7 separate regions of the Homo sapiens genome follow, and all the other regions are linked to region 7. The links are contacts of gene promoters, found by promoter capture Hi-C in blood cells and fetal thymus (Javierre and others, 2016). All regions are on one chromosome and are shown on one strand. The core of a region is centred on a gene start or on the middle of the fragment in contact, and the rest is flanking DNA. Distances in the headings are between cores, read along the strand shown.

Region 1 (2,803 bases), core at 68-2,567, 1.6 Mb before region 7:
AATCTATCATATTAATTCTTACTTCCAGTGTGTTATAACTAGAAGACTGATACAACTTTACCATAATAGACATTTAGCATGCTGGAGAATGAGCATCACACCTAAATTACTTATTGCCAAGAAAGATCAGCACAATTTGGATAAAAGTTGCTGAGAGCTGCTGCTAGTGGTGTGATCCCCCAAAGACCATGAGTGGGATGGTCGCTGAGGCACATATATTAATGCTTATAACAGGCAGTGGAACTCCACAGCTGTATACTACTAGGGAAGGAAAAAAATATGAAACAGAGTTTCACTATTGTTGCCCAGGATGGAGTGCAATGGCGCGATCCTGGCTCACCACAACCTCTGCTTCCCAGGTTCAAGTGATTCTCCTGCCTCAGCCTCCCAAGTAGCTGGGATTACAGGCATGTGCCACCACGCCCACCTAATTTTGTATTTTTAGTAGAGTCGGTGTTTCTCCATGTTGGTCAGGCTGGTCTCGAACTCCCGACCTCAGGTGATCTGCCCTCCTCGGCCTCCCAAAGTGCTGGGATTACAGGCGTAAGTCACCGTGCCCTGTTTTAAGCATGTGGATAGCCTCAAAGCTAAGGCATAACTAAGATGCAACAGGGTAGATCTACTGTAGTTCAGACAGAAAGCTGATTCAATGACATACATAAATAATCTACACAGCCACAAGGAATTTACATAATCCCCGAAAGTTCCACAATGTCAATGCAAAATCCTATAGTATAGTAATATCTCACCCTTCAAAAACAAATATGGCATCTAGGAAAATACCAGGACTTTAAACTCACCTATAAAGATACATGAAGAAGCAGAGCAAGTGGAAACCAAGCTTGATCATGGCTTCTTTCATGTGTGACTTCAGCTGCCCTCGATTGTGTATTTCTGTTGGATCAAACACTCCCATGTTACCACTCGGCACCATAATGTATCTGATAAATTAAAGGATACACACATTAGAAGGATAATCAAATCATAGGCATAAGTATTCAAATATAAGTAGCCAATAATAATCGACTTTTAAAAGTGAACCAATCAGGCCCAGTACTGTGGCTCATGCCGGTAATCCCAGCACTTTGGCAGGCCAAGGCAGGTGGATCACCTGAGGTCAGGAGTTCAAGACCAGCTTGACCAACATGGTGAAACCCTGTCTCTACTAAAAATACAAAAATTAGCTGGGCATGGTGGCAGGCAACTGGAATTCCAGCTACTCGAGAAGCTGAGGCAGGATAATCACCTGAACCCGGAAGGCAGAGGTTGCAGTGAACCAAGATCGTGCCATTGAGCCCCAGCCTGGGTGACAGAGCAGAACTCCATCTCAAAAAAAAAAAAAAAAAAAGTGAGCCAATCATAGCAGCCTTAAATTCATACCACATATGTACAGAGTAGTATGATAATGTCATGGGCTGCCACTTAGTTTCCTTTTGAAAGTTATAATACTGTTAATCTTCTGCCCTGTAAAATAAATACAGTAACATTCCAGAAAAGGATATTTTATGCACTGAAACCCTTTTACTCATCTGTAGAAAACTACCATACCAGTCACATCTACAGCCCTTTTCCATTAGACAAAGGTTAAAGAAGGCTTCAAACCCAAACCAATTTTATTAAGTTCTTAGAAACTTCATTATGGAAACAGGGAAATTAAGGAAGTTAGGTTACTTTGAGAGGATCAATGAATTTAAGTGTCTGGGCTTCAACATCCAGACTGTGTCATCTGTGTAACATATATGTCCTAACCTAGCACTGTCCATGAATTCTTCCTGCTCTCACGTCTAAGCTTCTTCTAGTACAACCTTAGTTGTCACACAGCTTCTCAATTATCACTTCTTTGAAATGCAAAGGACTCTCTGAGTTCCACAAATCTGAAATTCTCCCTTAAAACCCCAGTAGCCCGACTATAGCTGAATAGAGGGTATTTTCATTTGAATATCCAGATAACATCTCATCCTTGTCTAATTTCTAGGTTATCTAATAAGAGTGTCACCATTTTCTTGGTGGTCCTTAAAAACTTCCTCTTACCCAACTGGGACTTCTCTCTTCCTCATCTTTCATAGCCAGTCCATCAAACCCTTGTCCAGTCTTTCTTCCTACCACCACTTACTTAGCTGTCTTTTTTTTCCTTTTTGTATTTTTGTTTTATTTTTAATTTTTGTGGGTACACAGTAGGTATATATATTTATGGGTTATATGAGAGATTTTGATACAGGCATGCAATGTGTACTAATCCCATCAGGGTAAGGCTGGGCACAGTGGCTCACACCTGTAATCCCAGCACTCCAGGAGGCCGAGGCGGGAGGATTGCCTGAGGTTGAGTTCAAGACCAACCTGACCAACATGGAGAAATCCCATTGCTACTAAAAATACAAAATTAGCCAGGCGTGGTGGCGCATGCCTGTAATCCCACCTACTCAGGAGGCTGAGGCAGGAGAATCGCTTGGACCCGGGAGACGGAGGTTGCAATGAGCCAAGATTGCGGTATCACACTCCAGCCTGGGCAACAAGAGCAAACCTCCGTCTCAAAAAAAAAAAAAAAAAATCACATCAGGGTAAACGGGGTATCCATTACCTCAAGCATTTATCCTTTGTGTTACAAACGATCCAGTTATACTTTTTTAGTTTATTATTATTATTATTTTTAGACGTAATCTCGCTCTGTTGCCCAGGCTGGAGTGTAGTGGCAAGATCTCGGCTCAGCGCAACCTCCTCCTCCTGGATTCAAGCAATTCTCCTGCCTCAGGCTGCGGAGTAGCTGGGATTACAGGTGCCCAACACCACCATGCCCAGCTAATTT
Region 2 (2,852 bases), core at 169-2,668, 1.1 Mb before region 7:
CACTTTGCTTCAGTAAGCACGGAAGGAAGTAGGATGCTGAACTATGAATTTAAAACCTGGTGAAAAGCAAAATAGCATTAAAAGAATTTTTTTAAATGTACTTTGCATGTTTGATTCCTTATTATCTTTTAGATATGATAGTATTCAAAGATAATAATTGTCCACAGTTATTTTTAACAATTGGTTACAGTAAATGTTTGCTTAAAAGTTTTATGTACTAAACATTTGAAGCTAGAAAAAAAAGTTTTAAAATAGAGGTTAACAGTTTTTAAACAACCCTGTGCCTCGTAAGTTCTGAGGCTTGATTCTCTTTGAGTTTTAAACATAAGAAAAGAAGGACGTTTTATTCCACATTGGCCAAAACCAATCCACGTTACAGCCACTTGTTATTTTCTGGCCTTTTTGTTGCTGTGTCAAAATAATCCACATTTTCAAGGAGAAAAAAGGAAAACTAGAATTGGTAAAAGTATTATACTTTCTTTTTAAGATTCTGCTGTTCTCTTCCTAGGAAGGTGTCTTACCTTTTCCTTCTCGATTTAAGTAAAATAGAAGCAACTATCTCGTACATTCTTTAACAGTGGGATCGGCAAGTGTCATTACACTGTACTGCTTATGACTTGTATTAACCACAGTCAGATAACATTCAGAGAGCAACATTTTAGTCATTGCACATTGTGAAATGTATTGTCGCTTAATGTTTTTTAAAACTTGGCAATTTTCCACATCTGAGATAAAATGAAAGAATTATGTGGAGTACATATATCACACCTCACAACAGTAAACGTCTCTACTTTGTTGGGTGTGTTTAAGAAACCTGTTTTACAGGATACTGGATCTAGTCTTTAAAATTTTGCCTTTTTTTTTTTAAGTCCGATTCATTAAAAGTTTAAGCTGGTAGGATTTATCCTTGTTATACCTAAGACAGACTAATAATCTGTATTATTTACCTTAATTATATGCTTTCCCCCGAGGAGGCATTCTGGTGTGAAATGGTTAAGATGGCAGACTTTAAAGAAGCCAGCTTACCTGGATTTGCGTCCCAGCTCTGCCATTTGCCGGCTGTGTGCCTTGGTTTCCTTATCTGTAAACTAGGGATCATAGGGTTTTTGTGAGGGTTAATGAATAATCATTCAATATAGGTTAGCTGTTGTAGTTGTGGGCTGTGCTGTTGCTCACTTTAAGAGAGTGGAGTTTGCTGTACTGTATTAGATAGGCAGTCTAAAGACCAGTCTTGGCTAATTCTGATACTTGACAGAACGCTAGCCTATTTGCCACTTCTGATTATACTCTTAGTTTAATTCATACTATAACATATAACCCAAACGTAATTATGTTAGATTTTATAAAGTTATGTTCCTCCAACTTTGCTCCATGGTATTTGTTCACTTTGTGAAAGTTCATTACGCTGCATGTCAGATTCGTATACTTTTCTGAATAATGTTATACTTCAATAAAATGTGCCAAATCTATATTGTTAAAGTGCCTCTCACTAATTTAGGTGAGAAGTCATTCCTTCCCATTTGCTGCTGTTGTTCTCTTGCATAGACGAGGATCCTAAATTTTCCACCCATTTTCTTTGCAGGGTAAAAGGACAAACTTGCGTAAAACTGGCTCAGAGCGTATCGCTCATGGAATGAGGGTGAAATTCAACCCCCTTGCTTTACTGCTAGATTCGTCTTTGGAGGGAGAATTTGACCTTGTACAGAGAATTATTTATGAGGTATGATTATAATTAGTAAATTTTTTTTTTTGAGTCAGAGTCTCGCTCTGTCATCCAGGCTAGAGTATAATTAGTAAATTTTTAAAATATGACCTTGTATTTTGTTTTAAAGCTCTAATTAGAAAGCGACTGTAGAGAAATTGTATTTTAAAATTGTTTTCCTTTTAGGCATTGTGGGGTTGTGTTCAGGAACTCTTGGGCACGCTTTAGAATAGGCTATGCTGTTTTAAAGGTATGACTATGGAATTGTCATCATTTGGAAGTTCGGTTTTCACTTGGAGTCCTCTAGAGTACTTTTCTTTCTTAAGAGAGATCATTACTCCCCTTTAGAAATTGTTCATGTATGGATTTGTACTATACTGTATTAGGTTAGAGATGCGGTCTCTACTTTTAGAAGCCTACTATTTAAAATATTTTTAGTTGACCTTTTTTTTTTTTTGCTTTCCATAGCAAATGCAACTTCTACTTAGAAACTAATTTGTGGTGAGAAGCTGGGAGGATAAATAAACAAAAATGACTATAAGGATATAGTTTCTGGTACTTCCTTTTTTTAAAAAAAACCTTTTTATAGTGACTGCCTACTTAATGTGGTTTTTCTGTCTGTCTTATTTCTAGAATTGTTCTTGGTATAGTTTTCTTGGCTCCTATAGGTTTTAATTATGATTTTTAAAAGTGTCACAAGAGTCCATTTCTGTCCTCTTGACCCTAAAGGAGCCAGTTAGTAGTGACAGTTCAGGTGACAAGAAACTAGAGTGATGCTCACCCTTCTTCTTGATATAGGTTGATGACCCAAGCCTCCCCAATGATGAAGGCATCACGGCTCTTCACAATGCTGTGTGTGCAGGCCACACAGAAATCGTTAAGTTCCTGGTACAGTTTGGTGTAAATGTAAATGCTGCTGATAGTGATGGATGGTAAGATTTTCTTTTAAACTCCAGTCAAACTTCAGTTGTGGGAATCGGTTTATAAGCAGTTGTCATAGTGCTGTTGGAAGACAAAGAAGTATGTCAGTTATGTCCTTGAGCTGCTTGTAATCTAGCTGGAGAAATGTGGTATCTATTTTTGAGGAATTAACATGTGTTCATGTAACAGTCATCTCATTCCCATCCTGGAAGTAGGTGGAGTTTTAAAA
Region 3 (2,788 bases), core at 159-2,658, 1.7 Mb before region 7:
CCCTTGGGCAAAAGAAAACGTAACATGGCATTTAGGTGGTTTGGGGGAAGAGTTTTAGGTAGACTAGAGTTGAGGTTAATTAAATAGCAGCCAGATCAAGGAGGAGCTTTTGTATTCTTTGCTAAGAAGTTTAGACTCTTATGCCAGTGTTTCCCAGAGTGTTTTTGCAGGAATAATGGGTATGCAGAATTAATAGGTGTTACATGTAAAGGGCTTTTGTTGCCAGATTAGCTTGGGAAATGCAGAGTTAATGCTTACATTCCAATATGAAACAGAGAGACTTTTAGAGACTGTAATTTTTAGATAGCTGTATTATAGTGAGTCCTCTGGGACTGTTTGGTTCTTTTGGTATGATGGTATTTTTGTTATGTCAAATACTGTCTGAAAAAATTATAAGAAAATATGTGTTCTTTTTGGCCGGGTGCGGTGGCTTACCGCTGTAATCTCAGCACTTTGGAAGGCCGAGGCAGGTGAGTCACCTGAGGTCAGAAGTTCAAGCCAACCTGGCCAACATGGTGAAACCCCATCTCTAGTAAAAATAAAAAAAATTAGTCTGGCATGGTAGTGCGTGCCTGTAGTCCCAGCTACTTTGGAGGCTGAGGCAGGAGAATTGCTTGAACCTGGGAGGCGGAGGGTGCAATGAATTGAGATTGCGCCACTGCACTCCAGCCTAGGCGACAGAGCAAGACTCCATCTCAAAAAAAAAAAAAAATTTATATATGTATATATATATATATGCCCTTTTTGAACGTGTGTGTGTGTTTTAATGGAGAGAAAAAAGTACATTTAAGAGAGCCTTAAAATTTGAGTTGATGTGATTCCAATGCCTACTTTCCTTTAACAGTTTTTCTTTGCCTAAAAAAGATGAATTTTACCCATTCCCCGCAGAATCCAAGCAAGGTCATATAGGCTCCACAAACATGTTATTTCCACTTTGAATAAATTAGTATAAAGGCACTGTGCTAATGAAGATATAGTATTGTTTTTGTTTTCAACTTTATCTTTTATAGGATTATATTTTTTTCATTCATGTACATAAAAGTTTTTGAGTTATATATATATATATATATATTTTTTTTTTTTTTTTTTTTTTTTTTTTTTAAAGACAGAGTCTCGCTGTGTCGCCCAGGCTGGAGTGCAGTGGCGCAATCTTGGCTCACTGTAACCTTCACCTCCCGGGTTCAAGCAATTCTCCTGCCTCAGCCTCCCGAGCAGCTGGGATTACAGGCACCCACCACCACACCCGGCTAATTTTTGTATTTTTAGTAGAGACAGGGTTTCACCACATTGGCCAGGCTGGTCTGAAACTCCTGACCTCAAGCTGTTCGCCTGCTTCAACCTCCCAAAGTGCTGGGATTACAGGCATGAGCCACCACACCTGGCTGAGTTAAATATTTCTAAAGGAGTTTGTCTTCAGTTTAAAAGCAAATCTTTGTGTTGATCTGGGGCAGTACTGTGAATGAAAATTTGTTCCTGGAAGATCTTGAGCTAGTCAGGAAGACTTGACTTGCTTAGTAAATTATTTAAACCATTTTGACCTAATGATATTGCTGATCTAATACAAATACCTCTTACCCACTTCCCAAAGAAGAATCAGAAGTAGTCGCATTGTTAACTATTCAATTTTATCAAAACAATGGTGATTTGGACTAGATAATTGTATGAATGATAAACTTAGGGTTCAGTGAAGAAACAATAGTGTAAACATAATCCATTTTGCAATGACATTTCTTAGGAGGGGAGGAATCTCCAACCTAATTTTATCAGACTAGTTCCCAACTTTTTTCAACTGCTGGTGGGTCATCCCATTGGAATTTCCCCCCCATCCCCCCAGGCTCAAAGCTAAACTCAATAAATCTTAAGACTAAAGTCTAAAACTTACTGTTTCTTCCCACCTTTAGTCAAATTCTTACTTCCTCTATTTCTTGTAAACATCCATCCCTATCCCCTAAACCAGAAATCTGGAGGTTGTCTTTGAAGATTTTTTGTTATTTTCTGTCATGTCATTTTTATCTCCACAATATCTTTTTTTCTTTTTATAACAGGGATCTCCCTATGTTGTCCAGGTCGGTCTTGAACTCCTGGACTCAAGCAGTCCTCCAGCCTCAGCCTCTCAAAGTATGGGCATGAGCCATAGTGTCCAGCCCAAAATATCTTTTGATTCTGACCTCTTTTAGTCCTTAACATCTTACGTTAGGGCCTCATTTTTTGGGAACTGACTGTGAACTATGTATGGCTCATTATGGTTCCATTGTCCCTTTATGGTTGCCTTATCCTGTGTCTTTCTGATTCATCTTCCACATTGTTATCCTAGTTCTCTTCCTAAAGCCAAATATCACACTGTATATTCCCTAGCTTACAAATTTTAAGTGGCTTTTCACACACAGGGAAAATGTAACCCCTTAGCCTACAACAAACATGTCAACTCTTGCAGCCTTGTCACTTGCCACGTCTACATTTGCACTTCACAGTTCAGCTTGCATAGCATACAATATGGGCTTTTAAGTGAGGCAGCCCAGATTCAAATCCCCATTGCACTACAAACAGGCATGTTTCTAACCTTTCTAAACTTTCGTTTCTTTCCCTATAATATGAGAGGGGGTAATATTCTAGATTTGTGAGAATTAAATGAAGTATTGTTTATGAATAGTGCTAGTAGTGGTTAGCATTAATAAGTGGTAGCTTTGCTGGTAGGATTGTAAAATGGTGCAACCACTTGGAAAACAGTTTGGCAGTTTCTCAAAATGTTAAACAGAGTTAGCATACGACCCAGAAATTCCACTCCTAT
Region 4 (3,076 bases), core at 90-2,589, 1.7 Mb before region 7:
GGGCCAAACATTTACACCTTGCTTCATAGTAACCAGTTGAGATGAAGCACGTCGTTAGAACGTTGTTGGACACCATGTTGAATTATTCCCCCATCGGTTGTGAAGAACTGTGCTACATTCAGGCTTACCCATTGAACTCAGTATATATATTTTTTTCCTTCCTGTCTTTTGTCTGGCAGGATACCATTCTTGTTGCTCTTCTGTGTAATGAAGTTTAAATGCTTGTTTGGAAAACTTTATTTAACAGTTTAGAAGGCTTGATAGAAAGAGTGCATTAGTCTGAAGAGTATACATTGGATAGGAAAGAATTTCCTTCTTTTGTTTCTCCAAATCTTTCCGCCTTATTTAGCTTGAGATCTTTGCAGCTTGGTTCATGGATTCTAGCCTTGCCCGTTGCGCAGTATATACTGATCCAGATGATAAACCAGTGAACTATGTCAAAAGCACTCTCAATATTACATTTGACAAAAAGTTTTGTACTTTTCACATAGCTTGTTGCCCCGTAAAAGGGTTAACAGCACAATTTTTTAAAAATAAATTAAGAAGTATTTATAGGATTAAAGTGACTTCATTTGTATACATTTGGAATCTAAACCAGCTTAAAAACAGTTTCCTCAATGACTTAGATACACAGTATAACTGATGCTCTTCTGGAATACCACATGAGACATGGTCAGAAACAGTGCTTGGAAGGACATTACACAAGAAATTCAGAGTAATGCTTTGAAGATTTCCCCCCTTTTGTTTTATTCCTGAAGGAACATCAGTACCCGATCTTGAAGAAATTCAAGATTCAAAAAGAATTTTAAATACACCAACATGAGACATCAGTAGTCAGTTGGTTTTCAGTAAAGCTTGTTCCAAGTTGTTCTCAACTTAGGAAGTAATTTTGGTGTGATCTAGCAAAAGAGTAGGAATCAGCGATACAACCACTTTGGAAGTTTATAGTATAATTGAAATTATTAGAAGAATTCAGCAGGTTACAGACATACTTAAACTGGGATTAAAACCTCATAGTCATTTTTCTTAATTGCCCTTAATATTTTGACATATAGGGATACATAAATTTAAAGAATATTTTTTCTCAGTTTTTTCAGATATTGCCATACTGAACCTCATTCTAAACTGGTGCTGTGGATAGTCTTTCCCTCTCCCCTCCTGTTTTAGTTTAAGGAAAGGTTTCCTTCATGGAAAAGCACTTTTAATTTTGAGAATTTCACATTTAAAATAAGCCAAAAGCCTGATGTTCACATTGTGCTTTTAAACTCCGTAACAGCTGAATACAACATAACATAGTCTCCCTTGAAATTCCCTCCCTTTTTCAGTAGAGGATAAATAGGGTGACTCCAGCTGTTGGAATGAGAATGGGGATACCCCCAAAATAAGATTCTGGTGAAGAAAAAGTCTTGTACTAAGTTCCCCTTTAGGTGTAGCCAAGTCTATAATATAATTATGATCATGAATAGACTCCAGAATCCACAAAGAGAAGAGGGCTTGGATGTCAAAAATTCTTCCATTGTGGGGTAGGTGGTCGGGGATGGGAGAAAGGGAAAAGTCAGGGAAGGGGAGAAGAAAGAAAAACACATTTGGCCTTAAAATAGCATGCATTCTCCCAGAAGCCCATAGTAAAGAAAATGACAGATCGTGGTCAGCAGACTCTTATCAAATTGGTATGTAAAAGATTTCTTCAAGCTCCATTTTGCAGAGACCACCACTTAGAGAATCAAAAAATTCCTGTTTTGATACTTCTAAGTTAAAATATATGTTACAGTTTATCTGGTACTTCATTTTTCTTAACTAAAATTACTTTTTACTTTAAGCTTGAATAAAAATCTTCATTGGTAACTGTATGTAATTAAGTGGCAACTTCTCTTTACCTCAGTATAGTTAAAAACCATTCATATTTTAAGTGATTCATGTATACCCTGAAGCCGTTAATACACCCCAGTCTCTATGGTAACATCACTAAATGTGGGCATAGAAACTCCACAGCTGTTTACAAATTTGGTTACAGTGTGCTACGGTGCATTTGTAACACTCAGATTTGTGCCCATTCAGGGGCAATTTGGCACTCAGATTCTACTCTACTTCACCTAACCACCCCTAGATCTGAGTTTTCAGAGTGCTTCTGAAGTACAGTTTAAAAACACTTTTTAAAAAGTGGAGTAAAAGTGAGGCACATTTTACAAGAACATAACTCCTATTAAAACGGAGTAACAACTATGCAAAGGTTTCTATAGCAGCTAGGTGAGTTTGTTTTCCGGGTCTGTCTTAACTGGCAGCTTCCTGTACATACTGGTACTTATTTGCTGTAAACGTCTGTTTCATACATTTGCCATGCAGTGACTGTGCTCGAAAGGTGAAATCAATGGTAAAGAAGCCTAGGATTTTATGGTATGAGAAACTGATCGCAGGATTTTCTGATCCATAGCTATTAATTGAAAACTTCTGATAGTGCTGTAGGCTCTATAGTAGGCTTAAGAGTGAGTCTTATACTATGAAGCCAGCCACAAGATACTAACAAATGTATAAATTGAAAAGTACCAATACTTTTTGCACATAGATCAAAATAGAGTGGAGAATTTGGGCTCCAAAAATCAGGTTAGTAGGCTCATTTCCATGTGCTTAAAAATGTTTTTGTTGTTATGCATTGATTAAGGGCTAGAGCAAATATAAAATTAAATGTCTTTTTCCTCCAAATAATTGGTTATTAATGGTAAAATGTTGGACTTGGGGATTACTGAGATTAGTATGTGGGTAGTAAAGAATTGGAGTGGGAGTTAGTGGGGAGGGATGACAAAGCTTCAGCTTTGGTTTTTGTATTTTTTTAGTCTTCATAACAGCTACATTTCTGTTGCTCTTATTGGCCAGATAAATGTGTTATATTAAACCAGGTAAGTATTTTAAACAGAGAACATTTTATTTGCATATATCCCTACAAATTGGCCCATTTTATTGGGTGGGGGGATAAAAAAGGGATTCCCTAACTTTAAATAATCAGAATATCCTGCAATTGAAAGGAGAAAAAAATCCAATTTTGTCAGTATTTTCTTAGTCTGAAAAAAACAGCAGTAGT
Region 5 (2,851 bases), core at 264-2,763, 1.4 Mb before region 7:
CCTGAGGTCAGGAGTTCGAGATAAGCCTGGCCAACATGGTGAAACCCCGTCTCTAACTAAAAAAGATACAAACATTAGCCAGGCGTAGTGGTGGGAACCTGTAATCCCAGCTACTCGGGAGGCTGAGACAGAAGAATCGCTTGAACCCAGGAGGCAGAGGTTGCAGCGAGTGGAGATCGCGCCACTGCACTCCAGCATGAGCAACAGAGTGAGACTCAGTCTCAAAAAACAAACAAACAAACAAACAAAAAACAAACACGTGCAGTCTCAAAAAACAAACAAACAAAAAACAAACACGTGCTCTGGAAGAGGCAACCGAATGCGCATTAGAATCCCCCTAGCATTTAGTCACGCGTTCTTATTTCATTTTTTAAAACAGCGATAATACCAACCAAGTAGAATTACCAAGAGGATGAAATTGGGTAATGTTTGTAAAGCATTCCACACAATCCCTAGCATATTAGGAGTAGCCTGGGAGAGATGAGCATTCTCTATGTAACACAGAAGGCCCGAATCCTCTGGAGAGTTAAGGCCTCTCAATTAGCTGTCAGGGGACCAGCAGGCCACGCCACATATTTTCCTTATTTGGCAAGTCTTCCATTTTCAGTCTTTTCATCCACAAAACCGAGATGGATGAAAAATGCCTACGAATCCGCCGTTCTTACGTCCCAGGCTTGTCGTGAGGATCAATGGGACAAGCGGCGTGAACCGACCAGGGCCCATCAAGTCCGAGAAGCCCCGGGGGGCATATGGAGGGACGCCGGCCCCCTTAACGGGCCCAAGGCCGGGACTGCGGCCGCCCCCGCCAGTACTGCCCGCCGGCGCCCGACACCCTGAGCAGGGCTCGCTGGTAGGCCCAAGGATGCCCAGGACCACACCCTGCCTAGCACTCAGGCAGCCCCAAGGCCGGCACCCGCTCACCTCGGCCCGCTCCGGAGGAGAGGGAGTGGTGAGAGGAAAGGGCGCCCACCTGAGGGCACAGGAATCTTCTAGCGAAAAGATCTACTCAAGGCTGGCACAGCCGGGGACACCCTTCGCCCCAACCGGCCGGCGTGGGCCTGGCGGGGACTCCCGCGCTCGGGGACGCGCCTGCGCCTCTTCGCGGAAGGGTCGGAGCTGCGCGGCTCCGAGGACCCGTCCCTCCCCCCGCTCCTCGCCCAGCCTCTCCCGCGCTGACCCGCGGGCTGGCGGCCCGAGCGGCGACGGGACGCGACGGGGAGCAGGCTGCTAACGGGCCTCCGGCGCCCACGACCGCGCAGGGCCCGCGAGGGGAGAGCGCGCCCCGGCGCCGGGAGGCCACGCACGCACATAACGGGGCGCCCGCTGGCCCTCACCCAGGATCTCCCGGCGCCGGTCGGCGTGCGGCTGGTCGGTGTAGACCCACTCGAAGTCTTCCCGCGAGACGCGGCTCCCCATGGCGACAGCGGTGGCTTGCAGACTAGCTGTCGGCTCTCGCTCCCAGCCGGCTGCTCAGAGGTGGCGGCGGCGGCGGCGGCTCCCCGGCTGGTGTGGTGTCGGCCGGCTGTGGCGGAGCGCGGAGGAGACGGAGGCGTGGGCGGAGTCCCGAGGCCCCGCCCCCCCCGGCCCGCCCGCCTGCCTCTCTGGGTGGAGGGCGCGTGGCGCTCCCAGGCCCCCGTGCGGGGCCGGCTCTCAGCGATTCTGGGACGCGGGGTTCTGAGCTTCGGTGACTCGGCCACCATCCAGGATGCCGCGTTCTTGCGAGTGCCCGCCCCTGCGGCCTGCTGCGCCGGAGCCCGGAGAAGATGAAAAAGGAAGGAATGGTCTCAAGTGAGATAAACCTGCCGCCCTAACGCCTCCGCGAGGGGAGCACCGGGCACGGCTACGGTCACACCGAGTCTGGAGGCCCCGGAGCCCTTCTTAAATGGCAGCTGGCCTAAGTTTTGTTTAATTTTTAAAAAGCAAATTAGCCATTGAGTCATATTTCGCTGCCTTCTGGAAATAATACCTCAGGGAAAAAATGCAGAGTGCGTGACAATTAAAAGCTAATCAAGTAAAAAGAAAACACCATTATTAAGAGGGGGTGATGATGTGGGATTTGTTGTTGTGCTTGAATTATTCTAGTGTGACCACTTCTGTTAAGAGATGATTGCTCAACCTTGCATCTACCTGTCGCAGAAGTAATCAACCACAACCTCTTCCTGAAAGAAAGGTTTTGAAACGAAACTAATTTTGTTTCAACATTAGTTACCACGTCTACATCAAAGAGCAACTTAAAGATTACAAAAAGAAGATAACCAAAGCAGGTGTGCCTCCTAGTCAAAGAACATGCTGTGCACGCGCACACGGCACACACACACACACAAATCTGATCGAGCCCCTAGATCTGACTGTTAATTTATAGAAAATAGAAAGGACATTTGGCCGGGTGCGGTGGCTCACGTCTGTAATCCTTGCACTCTGTGAGGCAGAGGCGGGTCCATCACCTGAGGTCGGGAGTTCGAGACCAGCCTGATCAGGATGGTGAAACCCCCGTCTCTACTAAAAATATAAAAAAATTAGCTGGGCGTAGTGGCAGGCGCCTGTAATCCCAGCTACTCAGGAGGCTGAGGCAGGGGAATCGCTCGAACTGGGAGGCAGAGGTTGCAGTGAGCTGAGACGGAGCCACTGCACTCCAGCCTGGGGGACAGACGGAGACTCCCTCTCAAGAAAAAAAAAAGAAAATAGAAAGGACAGAGGAATGTGTTAAACTAGGCCGTGGGGATGAAACTAGCAAGATCCAACTCTGGGAGACTATATGGGACAATGTCTGGGTTCTCTAATAAATGAAACTCAAGGCAAAAAAAGAGAAACCTGTAGATTAAAAGGAGTTTAAAAGACATACCAACCAATT
Region 6 (2,870 bases), core at 358-2,857, 1.0 Mb before region 7:
AGCTGGTCATCTGCAAACCGAGCAACGATGACTTGGTGGAGTTGACAGGGCATCTTGAAACCTGAAGTTACATGAACAAACAAACTCATTGCTAAGCATTAGATTGTTCCATTTAGCTGCGCTCACAGGCTATGAAACTAATGTGGTGATTTAAATGAGGTATAATTGCTTTTGTCCCTTGGCTGCTCTTCTGTGAGACTGGTTTGATTTTGCAAAGCCAGTACCTTCTGCTGTTTCTTTTGTTTTTGAACTGTCCACCTTCACCCTGCCTGTGTCCTTTGCTGACACATAAGTGTTTTCTTGCCTGTTTCTGTTCTCATGGTCACAGTTGCTTCATGTTGTTAACCATGCTGCTGCTGTTTGATTTTTTGTTTAGCTCTCAATCGTCTTGAAGATCAGATTCTTCCTGGATATATGTGAGCAGAAGCTTTCCTGGTAAACTCATAGTAGTTCTCTCTCCTTCCAGAGTAAAATAATTTTTATTGAGCCTATGGCCACCTAGCATCAAGACTGCATGTCCCAGCTTCCTTGCAGTCAACAGAGGCCTTGTGATCAGAGTCTGGCTGGTGGGATGTGTGACCGGAAATGGCCTGTGTGCCCTTAAAGGCAAGGGGCCCTTCTTCTGTCAACCTGTTGGTGGCATGTGTTTGTGGTGGCAGGCTGTCCCAGGTCCCTTGGATGAGGGTGACCCTTGAAGGTCCGGTGGGCATCATGGATGGGGGGAGGCTGGGGGAAGCGTGATCAGATAGTGACATGGTAGGATAGTAGGAGGCACCGTCCTAGCCGTGGACTGCTGGAGCTGGGATTGCTATACGACAGAAAGACATACCTCGTATAAACCAATGTTGTGTGGGGTCTCTGCAGCAGCATTATATTCCAGCAAATAGAATGAACAGCCTCATGCTGACACATTTGTTCCCAAAGCCCAGCAGTCTCCTGCTTTGCTGGTCTACCACTCGCTTGTGTCCTTTTATTGATATCCAATTCTGCTAGGGTCTTACCCTAAGGGCTGAGCTGAGACATTTGATTTCTGCCTAACCAACCCTGCACCAGAAAGGAAGCACCTGGAGGAGGCTGTTGAGACCTGGCTTTGCCTGCTTACTGTGCCAGGCGGCTCCAAAGGAAACTTGGATTCAAGAAGGCACAGAGGGCAGAGCATCCTACTGCATTTAATTTTACCAATTAGTCTTTGAAAGGGGAATGAAAAGGAGGTGTCTGTATTAAACCAGCACCTACTTTATTTTATAGCTTTACCAAATCTTGTGTTATATGGTATAAGATGAGTGTTCACATATTCTACAGACAGATTAAACTAGGAACGAAAATGCAGTTATAAAGGGTTACCTGCTTCTTCTAATGCCTTCCGCATTTCATAGGAATTCATGGTACCAGACCTGTCAACGTCGATTTCTCGGTAAATTTTCTGGAACACATAAGTTAGCTGTAAGAACTATGACCCAAAGCAAAGCTGGCAAGTTACCTCCCTAGTATGTGCTGAGTGGGGATGAAGTTTTTCCAGCTCTGTGCCTCTAGTTTGGCCGTGGAAGAATCACTTATGTTTCTGCCTTAAATAACTAATAGTATTTTGCTTCTGTCTGTGAGCTGGTTTGTAAATATGCCCATCAAATCAGCCAGCCAACGCCCATAGGTCCATGTTCTTGTCTTATATAATTTTTGTACTTTAGCTGTCAAAAACCCTTTTCAGGAAACCCTTGATGGTGGCCTTTAGATGATCCCAATAATCAGGAGGAAGGGAATAGGCCATTTCACCTGCGAAGTCCTGGTTGGTTTTTTGTTTGCATTTCCTCAGCCCCATCTTTACTCACTCTGAGCTTCATTATGGGTAAAATCCCAATCCCCTTGGAAATGTTTCTCCACTCTGTGCAGGAGTTGCTGCATCTTAAAGCATATGAACAGAATGTTTCCCAACACAGATCCACCCGCATCTCTGGGATCTTACTTGGTATTTTTGAATCTTCGTCCAGAGAATGTAGAACTCCTTCAGCCCCAGCTTGCCACTCCCGTCCGACTGCCTTCAGTCAAGGAAAGCCCTTGAGTGTGGGTCCATTTGCACATAGTGTCACCTAGTTTGTCTTCTCAACTGGATCTTTTGAATATCATAGCATATACACAAGGAGGGTTTGCAGAAGGATCCTTTTCCTGCTTTTCCCACTGGCTAAACCTCCATTTAAAGGATTGGAGGAAGGGCGAGAAAGACCTGCTGGCTCCCTGCCGAATCTGGTTGCTGTTTTGATCTAGGGGTGCTGTGGAGGCCCCAGATACTACTAAAAATGAGGTATTGGATGACATGCAGAGGGCTTTGGATGGCTTCTAGTGGCTAGGCCCTTGCTGTTTTTTTTAAAGTATGTGGAGTATATCTAAGAGGCCTTTGGTGAAGGGAGCTAGCAGGTGTACACCATGAATCCACTAGATAAAACTTCACAGAAGTGGCCAGGCATGGTGGCTCACACCTCTAATCCCAGCACTTTGGGAGGCCAAGGTGGGCAGATCACCTGTGGTCAGGAATTCGACACCAGCCTGGCCAACACGGTGAAACCCTGTCTCTACTAAAAATAGAAAAATCAGCTGGGCATGGTGGCGCGCACCTGTAGTCCTAGCTACTAGGGAGGCTGGAGGGGGGAGAATCACCTGAACCTGGGAGGCGGAGGTTCGAGTGAGCTGAGATCATGCCACTGCCCTCCAGCCTGGGTGACACAGTGAGACCCCGTCTCAAAAAACCAACCAACCAACTAAACAAACAAACAGAAAAAACTTCACAGAAGCTTAGGCTGCCCCTTACCACCACTTCTCACTAAGCATTGGAAACAAGGGGGAAATGGATGACTAGTTTGCCTTGGGGAAAGGTGGGT
Region 7 (3,101 bases), core at 123-2,622:
TTTTTTTTTGCAGTTTTTGTAGAGACGGAGTCTCCCTATATTGCCCAGGCTGGTCTTGAACTTCTGGACTCAAGCGATCCTCCTGCCTCAGCCTCCCAAAGTGCTGGGATTACAGGCATGAGCCACTGCGCCCGGCTCAGTTTAATTCTTGGGAGCACCTCTACCTTTTGTTTCTTAAAAACCCCAAATACAGACTATGAAGGATAGTTCCTAAGTATATAATGTAATTAACAGGCCATATAATCTCTCTGACCTTTTAAATATTGTATTACCCCAGGGCTCAGTGATTGGACCTCTTCTCTTTCCTATCTGCTTTCTTGATGATCTCCTTTGGCCCTGTGGCTTTCAATACTATCCACACACAGATGATTGTAACATTTATATTCTCCAGGTCAGACTTTTTCCCTGAGTCTCACAGATCCAACTACCTGCTTGACATCTCTTCTTAGTTGTCTAATGGACATCTCAATCCTAATTTGTCTAAATCTTTGCTCATGCTTTCAGTGCAACTCTCCCTCCATCCCCCCAACACACACATACTCACACATTTACCTCTACTCTTCTGGCAGCCTTCTCATCTCAATAAATGGCAACTCTGTTCTTCCAGTTGCTCAGGCCAACAACACTAAAGTCATTCTTGGTTCTTCTTTAATCACACCTCACATCAAATCTGCCAGGAAATTGTCTTGGATATTTCTGGAATCATACTTTTCATTACTCCACTGCTACCACCCTGGTCTATCATCTCTCACCCTTGCCGTCGTCTCTCACCTAGATTATTGCAGCAGCCTCCTAATTGGCCCCCTCCAGTCTACGCTCGAAAAGGAGCCAGAATTGTTAAATCCTAAGTGAGACCATGTCATGTCTTTGCTTAAAACTCTCCAGTGGGTTCCCGTCTCACCTAGAGTAAAAGCCAAACTCCTCATAATGGCCTACAAGGCTGTATACCTAACCCCTACGAGCTTTCTGACGCCATCTTGTACTACTCTCCCACCACTGACATCACTCTAACCCCACGGGCCTTCTTCCTGCAATTCCCTGACCACACAGGTCCGCCCTCTCTCTCTGCAGAGAGCTCTCTGCTGGCTGCTCTATTAGTCTTTCTTTCCTTAGACTGTTTCCTTGCTCATTTCCAGTCTTTAACTCAAATGGAGACTACACTGAGCTCCGCTTTCAAGGCAACCTCCCATTGCCTTCACCACCACCCTCTGCATCTTACCTCCTGTTTCATTTTTTCTCCTTAGCACTTACCAACACTGAACACTCCATATTCCACCTGTCTCTGTCTTCCCTTTCCTCCCTGTCCTGCCCCTTGGCAGAGGGGGAGGGTTTTACCTGTTATGTTCACTGCTGTATCTTCTGCCCCTATGATGCCTTACACGTAGCTGGAACTCAGTATTTGTTTAACAAATGAATCATACATTTAGTTAAGGTTAATGGGTGGGAGGAGTTATATAACAGATTGGAAAAATAAGAACAGACTTGTAACTGTCTTTATTTCCTGCTTTAGAAATTACTATCTTCATTTAATATTTTTCTGATTACATCTATCTACTAATCATTTCAATTAGCTCCTTCACTGAAACACAGCATTGTAATCTGTACCAAGAAAATAACACACTAGTTCTACATCTTGGCATTTAACTTCAATAAGTAAATATACTATTTTAAGTATGTAACACTTAAACATTTTCTAGAGCTCTTTCCATTTTCATTTATCTAGAAAATGTTTTCAAATGGACTGTTAAAATTCAGCTAAGAACTGATGTTGGGTCATTACGCTGGAGCTAATTAGCATTGCTTGCCTGGAGCTGCTGGTCCCCCTTCCTGCTTCCACCTTTCCTTTTTTCTGAGGTGGTTGAAAGGTCAAACCCCTGGTGAGAGGAGAGAACCAAAGCCCCACTGCGTGCCTCAGATGCAGAGTTTCACAGCGTGGTATTCACTGGGTATTCACCGACATTTCTCTAGGCCCCTTCACCTGAAGGAACTGGCCTGCTCCAATCAGTGACTTGCAGTGTGTGTGTCAGGGGCAAGGATAGAGTGAGGAAAAATGTGAAATAACAAATCACTGCCGCTCCTTGAGAATTACAGGAGCATCACCTGGCAGGATTTTTGTATCCTTATTTTCAGTATTAAACCACATACATGCACCCCACTGCCTGCATGCCTGTCCATGCCTGTCCCACTGTGGTGTTTCACAGCATTTTTTACATCATGGCAGATAGAGAAAATTAGTTGTTTGGAATTCTGGAGGCGACCAGCCTGGGAGCTCCAGCCACCTTAAGTGCTGCCCAGCTAGACACCCAGAAGGCTTCGATCAATAGCTTGAGACAAACTACTTGAGAAGCTCTGCATTAGAGAAGCAAATTCAAGTCTTGACATTTTCTCAGGGGAGTGCTCTGAAAGTGACTATATAAGCTTCTACCGACCTCAAGCAAATCACAGGCATTAGATACATTAAATTGCTGAAGTGATAGCTCTGGCTTTTTGGATATGCACAATCAAATATAGTTTTCTGTTTTATAATTTGTCAACTCCCCTTCCAGATTAACTATTTTGATCCCTTTATTACTATAACATTCTTAAATATTTAAATTTTAAGCAAATTATTCAAATGTCAAATAAAATCTTTAGATACAAACTTATGGTAACCCAAAGTGACATTCCAAGTTTATTTTACACACATTAAGAGATAAGAAACCCAGTATTTTCTAAAGCATGAGTACTCTAATTCTGAAAGAATTCTGAATATGGTATTATTTCTGCATGCATTTATACAACGCTAAAAGTGCTGCCTCAAGTTTGCAAGGAATAGAGTTTTCTACAGATTATTGTACAGCGATAATGATACACTCTTTAGCTTAGCGTACCATAGTACAAATACTGTATCATGTTGGCTATTACTAAGCACGAGACATAAACAGGCCAATCAAAATCCTTTGAGATTAAGAAGTGATAGGTGCCAATAAACATAAGTAGAAACTGAACAAGGAGCGTTGAATATTTAATGAACCCATGAAGCATAAAACAATTGATGCAAATGTTTGTCATTTTATTTTTTTTGAGACAGGGCCTCACTGTGTCGCCCAGGCTGGAGTGCA

The links. The method cuts DNA at HindIII sites, captures the fragments that hold promoters and counts their contacts. A CHiCAGO score of 5 or more calls a contact.
Region 1: a contact is called between a fragment that was not itself captured here and the fragment with the promoter of FAM177B in region 7, in 1 of 17 cell types (neutrophils). The highest score is 12.2, in neutrophils.
Region 2: a contact is called between a fragment that was not itself captured here and the fragment with the promoter of FAM177B in region 7, in 1 of 17 cell types (monocytes). The highest score is 6.0, in monocytes.
Region 3: a fragment that was not itself captured here is called in contact with the fragment with the promoter of FAM177B in region 7 in 1 of 17 cell types (neutrophils); the score reaches 8.3 in neutrophils.
Region 4: a fragment that was not itself captured here is called in contact with the fragment with the promoter of FAM177B in region 7 in 1 of 17 cell types (neutrophils); the score reaches 13.6 in neutrophils.
Region 5: a contact is called between the fragment with the promoter of DEGS1 here and the fragment with the promoter of FAM177B in region 7, in 1 of 17 cell types (neutrophils). The highest score is 5.6, in neutrophils.
Region 6: a contact is called between a fragment that was not itself captured here and the fragment with the promoter of FAM177B in region 7, in 1 of 17 cell types (neutrophils). The highest score is 5.1, in neutrophils.

What each region holds. Positions count from the first base shown.
Region 1 is chr1:224,369,421-224,372,223 of GRCh38, reverse strand. CNIH4 (cornichon family member 4) reads right to left here. Exons shown (of 5, transcript NM_014184.4): 4 at 801-941. Among named protein-coding and RNA genes, the nearest start is that of CNIH4, 14 kb to the right of the region's middle. The HindIII fragment of the contact is 948 bases long and covers 844-1,791 here.
Region 2 is chr1:223,792,171-223,795,022 of GRCh38, reverse strand. TP53BP2 (tumor protein p53 binding protein 2) reads left to right here. Exons shown (of 18, transcript NM_001031685.3): 14 at 1,583-1,720; 15 at 2,501-2,634. Among named protein-coding and RNA genes, the nearest start is that of TP53BP2, 52 kb to the left of the region's middle. The HindIII fragment of the contact is 3,013 bases long and covers 1-2,852 here.
Region 3 is chr1:224,405,436-224,408,223 of GRCh38, reverse strand. The region is part of intron 7 of WDR26 (WD repeat domain 26); the gene reads left to right. Among named protein-coding and RNA genes, the nearest start is that of MIR4742, 8.5 kb to the right of the region's middle. The HindIII fragment of the contact is 3,893 bases long and covers 1-2,788 here.
Region 4 is chr1:224,386,617-224,389,692 of GRCh38, reverse strand. WDR26 (WD repeat domain 26) reads left to right here. Exons shown (of 14, transcript NM_001379403.1): 14 at 1-3,076. Among named protein-coding and RNA genes, the nearest start is that of MIR4742, 10 kb to the left of the region's middle. The HindIII fragment of the contact is 966 bases long and covers 857-1,822 here.
Region 5 is chr1:224,181,902-224,184,752 of GRCh38, reverse strand. It overlaps DEGS1 (delta 4-desaturase, sphingolipid 1), which reads right to left and starts at 1,513. Exons shown (of 3, transcript NM_003676.4): 1 at 1,335-1,513. The coding sequence starts at 1,416. RefSeq lists silencers at 768-847, 1,008-1,387, 1,488-1,687 and enhancers at 674-1,503, 1,838-1,927, 1,504-2,334, 2,188-2,337. The HindIII fragment of the contact is 20,781 bases long and covers 1-2,851 here.
Region 6 is chr1:223,769,000-223,771,869 of GRCh38, reverse strand. CAPN2 (calpain 2) reads right to left here. Exons shown (of 21, transcript NM_001748.5): 17 at 1,961-2,029; 18 at 1,345-1,423; 19 at 1-61. Among named protein-coding and RNA genes, the nearest start is that of CAPN2, 58 kb to the right of the region's middle. The HindIII fragment of the contact is 2,356 bases long and covers 430-2,785 here.
Region 7 is chr1:222,735,473-222,738,573 of GRCh38, reverse strand. It overlaps FAM177B (family with sequence similarity 177 member B), which reads right to left and starts at 1,372. Exons shown (of 6, transcript NM_001394345.1): 1 at 1,252-1,372; 2 at 553-670. RefSeq lists an enhancer at 1,589-2,130. The HindIII fragment of the contact is 3,071 bases long and covers 1-2,420 here.